2 separate regions of the Homo sapiens genome follow, and region 2 is linked to region 1. Evidence: promoter capture Hi-C in 16 types of primary human blood cells and fetal thymus (Javierre and others, 2016). All regions are on one chromosome and are shown on one strand. The core of a region is centred on a gene start or on the middle of the fragment in contact, and the rest is flanking DNA. Distances in the headings are between cores, read along the strand shown. Region 1 holds the start of NIPBL (NIPBL cohesin loading factor). Region 2 holds the start of C5orf34-AS1 (C5orf34 antisense RNA 1).

Region 1 (6,749 bases), core at 1,605-4,104:
ATAAGTCCTCAATAAGGGAAGAAACTAAAAAAACTTAAAAATTTTAAATTAAATGACACAATAATGCCAAGACTTTCCAAAGCAGATTGACTGTAGCAGCTGCAGTTACCTGGACATGCAAAATTACTAGTTTACCAGTAACATTTAAGAAAGCAGACAAGAAGATAATTGTGCTTCTATTAGCGAATTGAAATAATGGTATTTTGAAACTGAGTGAAAAACACATTCTGAGTCATCTGTATTAACTTAAAGCTGTTCTGAAGATTAATGGGAAAAATAATAATGAATAGACGATTGGATTTACTAAACAATGTTTGATTAATTGTATTAATGGTTATAAAATACCTATCAAGGCTGTCTTTTCTTGTCCAAAAATTCAATACATGAAATATGAAAATTTGTAATACCATAGCCAAAGCCTTATTGCATAGCTTCTAGCTTACTGATATATTTACTTATTTTAATTTAAAAAGCCTGTTTTTCCAGCCACTAGGAAATAAGATTTCTCACGTTTTATAGTACTCAAAAATCATGATTAAGTATATCTAATGCTAACCTAAGTGTAAGCAAACAGCAAACTAAATGGTGAATTAAAATATCCACACCAAGCCTGACCTCAGCTTTCATTGAACCTTTTCTTCAGAAGAAAACTAAAAATAAATTTCACTAGCATTTGCTTTGCTTGACAGCATAATTGAGTAGCAACCAAAGTAGCCACATGTGGTCCTTTATGTAAGGCCTTCTAGCCTCAGAAACACACACCTTTTGAATTAGCGTGCCTGGTACCCATTTGTGCCCAATAAATACTTGCTGAATGAACTTTTCCAATAGTGCTGGATTTGCTCTGAGCCAACCAAATTCTCACTTTTAATGTATTTTGAAAGACAGAGGACGACAAGATGAAGAATGCAGTTTGAGACTCAGAAGAGCAAACATAATCGGCCCAGTATGGATATGATCATTTGATGCACTGTCCTCGGGCATGCTCATTTACAGAAGCCTAAAAACAAATTTTATCCCTCATTTGTGGGTTTCTGGTGTTGTGGAGGGCTTTCCAATGTTTAGAAGCAATATATTTTTATAGAATTCTGTAATAAACGTGTTTTAAATCTTTTATAAAGCTCTCTGTAGCATATAAGTACATATTAAAGACAGAAATGGGGGAGCATCAAGGCCCTTATAATCGCATTCATTCCTTAACCACATACTACGCATCTACTGTGTGGCATTCTAGGCGGGGGCCGTAACACCAGTGCAGAAAAACACAACCTCTTGTCCTCTTAGAGCTTACATTGCACTGGGGAAGGAGAGATAAGAAGATAAACAAGTATGGATATGTAGACTGTCCAAAGGATAAAATGAGAAGGGGGCTAGGGAACTTTCAGTTTAAAAGTAGCCGCGGAAGCACCGAGTGACACGAGCAAAATCCTGAAGGTGAAGGAGCAAGCCCTGTGGACGACGCTCAGGGAAGAGTCCTACTCGCAAGGATGCCAGGGCAGGCCCGCCCCCACCCTCAACGGCGCGCGGGGACTTCTGCCGCAGTCAAGGCTTTGGCTCACTCCCCTCAAGACGGGAAGCCATTCGCAGGGCCTAGAGAAAAGGAGTGACAGGATCTTGGCCCCCTGAGTGGCCTGAGGCAAAAGGAATAATCTAAGCAAGTTTTCCTACTTACTTTTAGCGCACTGGTACACACACAAATACACAATACAATTCATATAACACGAATTTCGTCCCGGTTGAGTAAAATTCCGCTTACCTACTGCACTTTTTACCGAAAATAGCCCCTTTTTAATTTACACAAACTTAATAGAGAACGGTGGAACAATGGTTACTTCTTGTTTTACAATTTAAAAACTACAACAACCATAGTACTGTACGTATAATCACATATTGTATTCCAGCCTTGTCCAGCGCCTCAGTTTTCCGAACCTAAAGAGGAAAACGATGTTTGAAATCAGCTGGCCGCAGGCCCGCGGGTCGCCCGCAGTCACCGGTGGCTGAGTCGGGGCCGGCGGTTCTCCCCGCGCGCTCGGCTCCACCCACACCTAGAGGGGGGCGCCCGGGCAGCCGCGGGCGAGCTTCTCGCTCGCGCAGCGTCGCCTACAGGCCTTTATCCTGACCGTTAGAGAAGAACCCAAACCTCTGCCGACAAAAAGCAAAAGCAGCGGAGACCGCGTATTTCCAGAAATAAACGCATCATCACAAACACGATTCCAATTCAATCCAGCCGACAGTCGTCTTCACCTCCAAAGGTTGCGTTCTTATTCGCAGAAATAACACGCAGTCGGGCGTAAGGTCCCGGCTCTCAAAAGGCAAGGTGTACGATCCATCCATCCACCCGGCTGCAGGGACACCATTTAAAACGGGCATCATCGCCATCGAATCGCGGGCGTCCTCTGTGGGGCCGCCCGGAGATCGGCTCCCTAAAGCTAACGACGACCTGGGACAGCCAGCGCGGCCTCCAGCCGCCGCCGTCGGCGACCTGAGAGCCCGTCCGGGCCTGAGTGCCCCCCACGCTCACGACCACCACCGAACTCGGGCCCCGCTCCTGTCGGCCTCCAGGAAAATAAAGACAGAGGAGAGCCGGCCCGCCTGTGTCGCAGGGCAAACGTCGCTCTGAAGCATCGACAATACTGGCAACATCCACAGCCGCCCTGAGGGGACGGGCGTAGAGGAGAGCTGCCGCCTCCCGGCTGCTGGGCCCGGGTGCCGCGCGGCGCGGCCGAGGACGCGAGCCCAAGTGGCGGCAGCGGCGGCTGCGGCGGTGGCGGAAGTGGAGTGGGGAAGAGGGGGTGGTTGTTAGTGTTTGGCGCCGGCGGAGGGAGTCATTCCTGCAGCTGCACTTCCGGTCGGCATTTTGTTCTGAGAGGGAGAGACGGAACGAGAGAGAGACACACACAGGGCTCCTTCCCCCCGCCCTCCCCCCCCTCCCTCCGTCGGTACCGACTCACCCGACACCACCAAGCCGCAGGGAGGGACGCCCCCGCCGACAGGAGAATTGGTTCCCGGGCCCGCGGCGATGCCCCCCCGGTAGCTCGGGCCCGTGGTCGGGTGTTTGTGAGTGTTTCTATGTGGGAGAAGGAGGAGGAGGAGGAAGAAGAAGCAACGATTTGTCTTCTCGGCTGGTCTCCCCCCGGCTCTACATGTTCCCCGCACTGAGGAGACGGAAGAGGAGCCGTAGCCACCCCCCCTCCCGGCCCGGATTATAGTCTCTCGCCACAGCGGCCTCGGCCTCCCCTTGGATTCAGACGCCGATTCGCCCAGGTAAATTCCTGCTCTTTATTTCGGCGGCGGCGGCGGCGGCGCCGGCGCCAGGTCCTCAGCGTCTCTCCTCCTCGCTCCCCTCCCCGCCGTTTCCTTAGCGGCCCCAGGTCTCTTCCACAGGCGAGTCTAGAGTTCGCTCCTCTCTGGTGGCAGCCGCCTTGGGTAGCGGTGGTTTTGTACCCTCTCCCGGCCGGCTCCGGTGGCGGGGACTGGGCTCCTGCTGGGCGGCCGGGGAGGCGTAGGCCCGGCGGAGAGTGCAGGCCGCGGGCCAGCGGAATCTACTTGAGCTCGGGGATTAGGAGAGCTCCGGGCTGAGCGGAGCGACTGCTGGTCGGTGACAGGCCTCGCCCGGGAGTGGAGCCGTAGCTAGTGGGGAGGCGGAAACAATACAACTAACAGCAAATGTGCCCTGATCGTCCCCATATTTACAACTTTCCCGGTCCGGGAGTGGGGAACGTCCCAGTGAAACAAACAACCTCCCTTCTTCCCCCTGTGACCCCATGAAGGGAGGAAGTAGTTTCAGTTAGTGAGACAAACGTAAATACTCAGACGCGGATCCAGTGGTAATTCTTTCTCTTTCTAAAACTTGTTTGGACGTTGGAAAGTTCATAAAGACTCATTTTCTTTTTTAAAGAATTAAATCGTCCACATGAATATTTAATACAGAAAAACATACTGTGGTAGACACTGCACATCTCCCCCTCCCCAAGAGCTTTTATCTTGTTGTTTTGACAGTGTGTTGTTGCACATGGACTTTTTATTCAAAGACAAGTATAAAGTACTTGACAGGTTTACTCTGCCACTTTCTATTTGTATGCGTTATGTAAGGGCAGTTTTAAGCGACTATACGTAAAACACTCAGGTACTTCCTGACCAAAACGTGTAGGAGCATACAAAGAATTTTAAGTGTTCTGAGAATTGTGCTGAGATACGGGTAAAACCACTTTTCTTTTCTTTTTCCAAAAAAGAAATTAAGTTATACTTAAAATCCTTGGGAGGTTAAAAAATTGTAGAAGGTGCCATCCTTTTATGTCAGGGCAGTTCTTCTTGAGGTCCCAGGATTGTCATTGGCTGTTTGTGCCATGATGTTTGACTGTGTAATGAGAGAGGTGTCATTTTAATAGGTTAAATGTATCTGTAAATGCTGGAGAAAAATATCAGTTCTAACTTGACAAGTTCTAGTTCATGAGTAAGTTAAGTGTTTCGAGCTTGTTTATGGAGGCGTTCATAATGTAGGTTGGTATAAGGGGGAAACACCAATTTAAAATTCCTCAGTCAGGCAAATTGCTAGAAAAGTGTACCTGGGTTACACGTTTTGATATTTTGTTTCATATTCGCTGAAGGAAAACTTTCATTGGTTAAAATGAAGCAGCACTGCTCAGCGAAATCCCTTGTTTTACTAGTGTTTGTTACATTGGTTCATATTTTTTGTGTCATTAAATTATTGTCACTGTAGAATAAGTTATTTTGTGGAGGTTATTTTTGAGTTTAGCGTCCTGATTACAATAAATTGTTTCACATTTCCTGCAAACGTACGGATAAATGTTTAAAAGAATGAAGTTAATATAGCTGTCACGTACTAGGCATGTTTTTAATGCTATAAATCCGTGTAGTAGTCAGTAGCGTGTCCGTGATTTGTATTGGTCAGGGAGCAGTTTGAATTTTAAAAAGCCTGAAGCTCCTGCTGAGCCCCAATCCCGGCCTCCCTCCCTCCCACTAATCTCCCATTCCTGTCTTTGTGCTGCCTGCTCCTGTTAGACACTGTTTGCTACGGGGCCTCAGGCCTACTGCGGGTGGGGGGGTGTGCGAGTGGGGGGCATGCCAGGGAGGGAATGCAGACGGGAGGAATACTTCACATCTTAAGAAAGCAGAGGGTTTGTTTTTTTGGGGATGGAGGTGGTAAGGGCTTCATTATAAATGTTTAAAAGGCCTTCATATATTCCTGTGATTGTCTCTACAACTTTTATTTCAAGGGATAAACATATTTTTACTAAAGATAATAGAGGAGTTGTGCTTGCTTAATTTTCACGAACTGAAGCAACTTATTTTTAGAGGTTGTCTTATGCAGATGTTTGAATAAGTGTGTTAGAGATGGGTTTATGTGATTGATTCTTTTTTTTCCTGAGACTTTGGAATTGTTATAGTGAATTAGTTCTTCCCAACTTATTTTCCCAATTCTACATATTTAGTAATTTGTGAGTAATATAGGTTGTGTGATAGCTTTCATTATGATAGCATAAACATTTCTTTAAATTTAAAAATATGTTTTGTTTGGTCCAAACCAATTAAATACGTCATTTTTAAAGGAGAAAACATTGTGTAAAATTCAAATTGTAAAATTTAAACTTGAACTTTAAATCTCTGATAACCTAGTTGGAGAGAATAGTTTGTTTCCCTAAAGAGTGTAGAGTGTTCTGCTTCCCCTCTGTTGGTTGGAATATTCACTAGTGGCTAATCATCTATTTCCATTAAAAATTAAAATTCAGTGAAAGGAGAAATCAGAAGTGTTCCAGTAACCTTATAATCCTAGTTATATTATTTGGAGAAATATTTTCTCATACACCTAAAGGAAATTTCAACAATGTCGCTTATTGTTTCTCTTAACTCTGAAGAGTTGTCAATAACTTTTGTTACTTGAAAAGAGATTTCAAGTAAATAATGAAAGTAAATCAGAGTTGAACATTAAATAGATAATTTTCAATGTTTGAGAAGTGTATATAGGATGCTTCCTTTTTAAAGTTATTCAACAATTTGTTTACTAAAGTTATCTGAGAACATTTTTGAACCTGTTCTAGAGATCATTATAATATTTTCTGCTTTTAAGGAAAAGTTATACATTACTTGAAAAAAGAAAAACAGTCTACTTGAGATTCTTTTTAGGGATGTAAAGTGAAAGTTTTTACTATGGCAGTAAACTTGGTTCTTCATAGTAATCATTATTAAATTTCAAAAATATGAGCAAGCTATACCAATACAAAATTTTCTTTACTTGCAGCCGAAAAATGTATTTTCTAAGGCTTCTTCAACTAATTTCATATTTAATTTTTTGGTACCAATCCATCATCAAACTGTCATAGAAATATTTGAACATATCTGTGTTACATGTTTGAAATACCCCATTGTGGTATTTTTACTTTCTCAAAATAAGATGTAGTAATTAATAATATAAGAGTAAATAAAAACCAGGAGTTTGAGTTTTATTTAATTTCATTTAATCCTCCTTTCTGGTGCTTATTAGGAAAAGCATAATTTGGAAGAAATTCTAAAATTTTAAATTAAGATTTCAGTTTTATGTGAAGTGATTAGGGAGTGTGAGGTAAACAGTAATTCCTTTTAGAGAAATGTAACTTTAATTCTGTTTATCACATTTACTTGCCATAAAAATGAATGGGAAATAATTGACTAGGAACCTTTATAGAAGGCTGACAACTAACTGTTCAGTTGAACATGCTTATTTTAATATCCTGAGCGTACTAGGTTAGGTT
Region 2 (6,557 bases), core at 2,463-4,962, 6.6 Mb after region 1:
TGAGTTCAGATTTTAAAAGGATTAGTTTGCTAATAAAGTGTCGTGAGCAAAGTGAAAAATCAAAAGATTACTTGAAGTATTTACATGATGATCCAAATTTAAAGCGACCTCAACAAGCAAAATTTACTGTTTACAAAAAACTGTATCACGGTTTACGAATAGGAACACATATATTATATATAATGGGTATAATGCGAATGCATTTTACCAATGGAAAGTACAAAACAGCTTGCTGATGAAAGAGGAAGGAAAAAGCTCACAGTGAACTTGGAAGCAGATCCTTCAGCCCCAGTCAACCCTTCAGATGTCCGCAGCCACTGCCGACATCCTGACTGCAACTTCATGAGACCCTGGGCCAGAACCGCCAGCTAAGTCTTGACCCCACAGAAAGAATAAAATTATTGTCTACTGTTTTTTGTTTGTTTGTGTTTTGTGTGAGATGGTTCCTCGCTCTGTCACCCAGGCTGGAGTGCAGTGGCATGATCTCGGCTCACTGCAAGCTCCCCCTCCCGGGTTCACGCCATTCTCCTGCCTCAGCCTCCCGAATAGCTGGGACTACAGGCGCCCGCCACCACGCCCGGCTAATTTCTTGTATTTTTAGCAGAGACGGGGTTTCACCCGTGTTAGCCAGGATGGTCTCGATCTCCTGATCTCGTGATCCGCCCGCCTCGGCCTCCCAAAGTGCTGGGATTACGGGCGTGAGCCACGGCGCCTGGCCCCTACTGTCTACTGTTTTAAGCCTCTAAGTTTTGGTGTAATTTATTACACAATAGATACGTAGAAGAGAACTATTTCTATTTTTAAGGAAGGTATAATTGCAGTTCCAGAACCCCACATTTCTGGCATCTATTCTACTCCAACTTTTGGTGCAGATATTTAACATCTGGCTCAGAGTCTGAGTATTAGAAAAAGAGAAATTTACTAAGTGTTCTTCCTGTATTACTTATTGTCTCTGAATAATACACCTAAGGGTACCCATTTTTCTTCTTAAACTTTTTATTTCCTTTTCCACTTCCTATTCCTCCCCCTACAAATAAAACGGACTCCCGAACCTCCTTTTACATATTCACTTTTGTTGATAAGGTTCCTTAAGAGTAGTGATCTCTTTTAAACTTGTCATGTTTAAAAATCCAGTGTGCTCAAGGTATTTAATAAATATTCCATTTTACTAATACAAGAGATAATCACATAATAAATCCGCAGCCTATGAACTAAAGATACTGTTTGGGATAGCTTCTCTGACATAACTGACATATTATAAATTCCTCCCTATGACTCGCAGAAGCCATTTTCTGCAATGGCCAAACTTTGTCACACCCCATCCCCCTTATAGCAAATACCACTAACTTTGGGGCCTTCAGAGTATACATAACAGTACTTTTCTCCTTCCTGAATTCCACAAACATATAATTAGCTGGTCACTTTAATTATACGCTATCATGTATTGTTTGCTAATAATCTCTTAGACATTATTTCTGTCAAAACAAATAAGAGCTGATACATTCTCTAAGTAAGTGTCATCTGTTTTAACTTTCCCTCTTCCCCACCAACCTTACACATTATATGCAAAAACCCAAGGTCAAAACACGGTCCAAATTCCAGAAACCGCCTTTATTATGCTTTACCAGTAAGTCTTCTTCACTGAACTGTAGTTGCTGTAAACTTAATATATTTAATTTCTTTAATGGAAAAATATCAAAAGCAGATGCCAAATCTGATGCAACTAACTGACAAAGGAAACACAAATCTTGCTTACTTTCACTGAAACTTTTTATAGCCATCAGATGTCTGCACTTAAAATGTTTAGTTCCTATGCCCATTACGAATAAAACAAAATTCTGTATTTCAACATGTTTCAAGCCTCAGAAGTTCCCAGACATCCTTTTCTGAGTCTGGTGTGATGCAATAATTTTTCAAATGTCATTTAAAAAAATGGGCCAGGCTGCAGGGAAAGGACCATGTCACACTCTCAGCATTCAAGCCTCAAAGGCTCCGGGGCACGAAAGGCTCTTACAACCGGTTAAGGACGGCAATGGGCTCCTTCGGCACGACTCCCGGAACCCCACCCTGGGCCAGAAAAAGGCCAGGGGCGCGGAGCGTAGGCGGAGGGCTGGGGTTCTAGGGATCTAGAAAAAGCGCGAAGCCGGAGGGCGGCGCCAGGGCTCCTCGCAGACCCCAGGGCCGCGGGACGGTGCCGGCTCGTGGGTCACACGCACCCAGGAGGCTCCTGGCTCCCGCGTGGCGGCTGTTCCAGCACGCCCTCCGACCCGCAACCGGACCCTCCAGACATCAGACTCAGTGGTCCCCCACCTCCGGTCTCCCACCTCAGGACGCAGTTCCGCGGCGTCCACCCGGCCCCCTCCCCTCAGTCCCACGCAGCGGCTCAGCCATACCCACCCCGGCTTCTCTGAGTTCAATCCAGCAGCAGCTCGAGCAGCGGCTCCGCCCCTCGGTCGGAGCCATAGAGACGTCGGCTGCCGGCCAGAGTGGCCTCAGACCGCAGCGTCGGCCGAGAGGACGCCGGGATACTGGCCAGCTCCAAGTCGAAAGGAAGCGACGCATGAGTTGTTTGGTGCGGTGGGTAGATACCTCGAGTTTCTCCTCGCCCACCGTAGGCCCCGACCCCTAAAAAGGAAACTTTTGGGACGTCAGAGTGAGAGGAGAAAAGTGTCTTTTTAGTTTAGTTTTGTCAAACCTGAGGATTCGTTTTTCAGTTTAGCCGGAGCTGTGCCGCAAACGTAGCTGCCGACATCCCCACGACGCACCCAAGTGGTGGCCCGGAAGCTGGGGATAGAAAAGTGGCCTCCCCGAATGCCAGGCACACAGGCCTTACTACCAGAAGCTTGAGCTGGGAGCCTCGGCCGTCGCATCTCTAAGGTGCAGCGATACGGCCAACTTCCTTCCGCGAAGCCCTCAGGGTGGGCAACGGAGCTTTTCACCAGACTGAGGGACCGGGCGACCTGGCCGACCGGCGGCTCCTCACCGCCCCCTTGGGGATTTCTTGATAATTCTTTGCCACGATGCGGGCGGATGTTGTGGAGCTACTGTTTGTAGATCGCAGTAGCGTGACAGCACTTAATCATGACTACTAAATCCTCAGAAGTCGAAAAAGCAAGTCCATACAGAATAGTTTGACCCTAATTAAATTGCGCTTACAAGATACAGTTTGTTTACTGGGACTTTGGCTAGGTCCCATCCCGTCTCTGCCTCAGAGTGGTGGTTGCTCTTAGCACCAAGGAAATACCAGCTTGACATTTGACTCTAGGAAGCACAGGCCCAAAAGAAGAGGCCCAAGGAGGGACATTCTTCTTTCCCTTTCCTACCTACAGTTTCTCAAACCAAGTGTCAGATGGAAAGCAAGGGGTGGTATCATCGTAATTATACAGTTGACCATAGAAAATAAATTTCAATCTCAAAGTAAACTCCTAGGCCACCCCCAGAATCTTAGAGTTTCTCAATCATAGAACTCATTTCTTGTCACAGTCTTGGTTCTTAGCCAATGTAAAACACCCAACTGACAGGGAAAATTAAACACCTTTTAACTCCCACACACCTTAAATGAGAATTTAAAGTATCTTTCAGCAAATGTATTTATAATTTTGAGTGCTTTTAGCCATGTTAAGGACAAATTTTCTCCTTCTGAATGCAGTAATAATTTGGCATTACCCTTTTGGCAGTGTGGTACAAAGTCTTATAATCTAGGCTTTATGGAGCTATTGAGGAACAACATAGATGGCTTCATGCAAACCCAAACAATGTAATAGTAGTTCTTTTCTCTGTAGTCGGTCTACTGCCTGTAGATGTTTATTCCTTTTTTTTTTTTTTTTTTTTTTGAGACAGGGTCTCCCTCTGTCACCCAGGCTGGAGTGCAGTGGTGCAATCATAGCTCACTGCAGCCTTGACCTCCTGGGCTCAAGGGATTCTCCGGCCTCAGCCTCTGGAGTAGCTGGGACCACAGGCACATGCCATCGTGCAGGTAATTAAGTTTTTTGTAGAGATGGGCATCTCGCTATGTTGCCCAGGCTGGTGTTAAAGTCCTGGGCTCAAGTGTTCCCCCCTCCTTGGCTTCTCAAAGTGTTGGGATTACAGGCGTGAGCCACTGTGCCCAGCTTACTGATTCATTTATACAAACAGAGTGCTCTCAGTGTGCTACAGAATGACTATGGAGCTCAAGTTCTAGTGGAGGGTGTGAGCCACAAGGAAACAAGCTAGACAGATTGTAATAAGTACTATAAAGGAAGTAAATAGGGTGATGTAATAGACTTGGGAGATGCTAACTTTAGTCAGGTAGTAAGGAAGGCCCTTTTGAGGAAATGGTACTTGTTTGAGAATTGAAATGTGAAGGAATCCAGTGTCAGAGGAACTAAAAAAAAAAAAAGGCATTGTGCCCCTTTAACTTAGTGACATTATCATTCCTGATCTACACTCTTCTCCCCATTTTTCTCGTTTTCTCTGTTACTGCTTCCCGTTTATTTGAAGAGCCAGGTCTTTTATAGAAATCAGAAAATTAGAACATTTCTGGTTGTGTTTGGTGTAATCTTGACGTCATTATAGATATTTGGTTTTGTTCTTTCTTAATAGACAAGCTTATAATAAATAGCACTTTTGGTGAGCTCATTTCTGTTAAACACTTTGCAGCATAAATCTTTTCCTGTGTTCAAAAGAAAGTATCTGGTTCATGAGACAGTTTAGATACAGTCTTTGCCAAAGTGCCTGATTTTTAGTTTACAATGTTGCTTGTCTCCGTTTTTGTTTTTGAGATGTAGTTCTTGTCTCATAGCTCTACTGAAAAATACTTGGAGTAAAGGGACCAAATAGCAAGTGAACAAATGCACAATTCTGCATATTAAAAAAAAAGAGGCTGGGTGCAGTGGCTCACACCTGTAATTCCAGCATTTTGGGAAACGGAGGCAGGAGGATAGCTTGAAGCCAGGAGTTCAAGACCAGCCTGGGCAAGATAGGGAGATTCCTGTCTCTACAAAAAAAATTTTTAAAAATTAGCCAGGCATGGTGGTACATGTCTGTGGTTCCAGCTACTCAGAAGGCTGAGGTGGGAAGATCCCTTGAGCCCACAAGTTCAAGGCTGCAGTGAGCTATGATTGCACCACTGCATTGCAGCCTGGGTGACAAAGCAAGACCGTATCTCAAACAGTAAAAACAAACAAAATGAAAAAACCTGAAGATTAATAGTGAATGCTCCACAAGATAAAAACAGCAACAACTTTATAATGTTACAAATTTTTTTTCTTGTTAATCTGAAATAAGAATTAAATGTGAAACGTTCAAAACTTCGAAATATTTATTATTAAGATATAAATACATATTTTAAAAATGTACAAGTTAAAAATACCTTCAAAGTTAAATGTCAGTTCTTTCACAATCATTGTGCCGGGGTAATACGTACAATATCTTGGCTTACTAGTAATTTTATACCAGTCACTTGAAACAACATCCTTAAACTTTAATAATATGTTGTAATAATTCCATTTTTCACTTTTTAGAGTTTGATAGAAGACAGTCAATATCGTGAAGGATTTCAGAGGTTTTTTTCAATGCTATTGATACTCTATTTTCATTAACTTCTCCTAGCAAGGTTTCTGAAGATCCTGGTTTATAATGATCAAAAGACTGTTGTTCATTTTTCTTGTTAGAAATCTGGTTTAGGATACCACTATTTTCTAGTAGCACTAAGTTGCTTAGTTAAGGAGGTTTTCCCCACATTTTTCACTATATAAATATCTTTATATACAGAAAGCATAGGCTTCATATTAAAATATTTCTCAGCTGGAAGACCTCTTGGATTCATAATACAGTTGGAACTGCAAGGCTTATCAAGTCTGCTCCTTGTAGATGAAGAAACTAATTACAGTATAAGGGAGGGGGAAAGAGAATAGAGTGTGTATGTGTGTGTTTGGGTGGAGGTTTGGTGGTAAGGAGGAAATGAAAATTTCAGTAACATTTCTTTAAGTGAAGAAATGACACGGGAATTAAAGAGTAGGATGACAGGATTATAAGGAATCTGTGTAGTGTCTATTTTTAATTTAAAAAGATTTAGAGTGAAAAACCTGTTCGCTATAGAACTAACTTATTTGAATAAGATTAGAGAAAAACCACAAGAGAAAACAAATTTAGATGAATTGGGTGAGAATGTACAGAATGAAATATTTCATTTAAAAAAAGAGGTCTTAAACAGTTATAATTTTATTATATAATTATGTAAGTGAAAAAGTCTCCAAAGGAGACCTTAACCCTAATTAACTGTTCTTTGCCCAATTTAAACTCAAAGAAAAGTATAAATGTTAACATGCTATACCTTCTATGGACAAGATCCATCTTAAATTACAATCTTAGGTATTTGCTGACTCAATAAAGGTTAGCAATATATTAAGTATAGATTAATATTCACAAAGTACTGAAGTCATGAATTAAGCCTAGAATGAAAGAGAGTAATTATGTAGGACAGTGCATTCTGTTTAAAGGATACAGTTAAACTTCTGTATCTTTTCAAGTTCAGAAGCAACAGACCTGTCCAAGGAAAAAGAAAAAATTCATTCAGT

Evidence for each region. Contacts are between HindIII fragments. The CHiCAGO score rates a contact against its expected background, and 5 or more counts as called.
Region 2: a contact is called between a fragment that was not itself captured here and the fragment with the promoter of NIPBL in region 1, in 1 of 17 cell types (total CD8 T cells). The highest score is 6.8, in total CD8 T cells.

Annotation. Positions count from the first base shown.
Region 1 is chr5:36,873,915-36,880,663 of GRCh38, forward strand. NIPBL (NIPBL cohesin loading factor) reads left to right here and starts at 2,855. Exons shown (of 47, transcript NM_133433.4): 1 at 2,855-3,264. It overlaps NIPBL-DT (NIPBL divergent transcript), which reads right to left and starts at 2,780. Exons shown (of 1, transcript NR_046262.1): 1 at 1-2,780. RefSeq lists an enhancer at 2,151-2,200 and silencers at 2,611-2,720, 3,361-3,480. The HindIII fragment of the contact is 9,072 bases long and covers 1-6,749 here.
Region 2 is chr5:43,481,425-43,487,981 of GRCh38, forward strand. It overlaps C5orf34-AS1 (C5orf34 antisense RNA 1), which reads left to right and starts at 2,495. Exons shown (of 3, transcript XR_007058763.1): 1 at 2,495-2,577. TMEM267 (transmembrane protein 267) reads right to left here and starts at 2,441. Exons shown (of 3, transcript NM_022483.5): 1 at 2,398-2,441. C5orf34 (chromosome 5 open reading frame 34) reads right to left here. Exons shown (of 13, transcript NM_198566.4): 12 at 6,485-6,525; 13 at 5,285-5,687. The coding sequence ends at 5,491. RefSeq lists a silencer at 2,296-2,526 and enhancers at 2,472-3,315, 2,581-2,770. The HindIII fragment of the contact is 1,744 bases long and covers 2,841-4,584 here.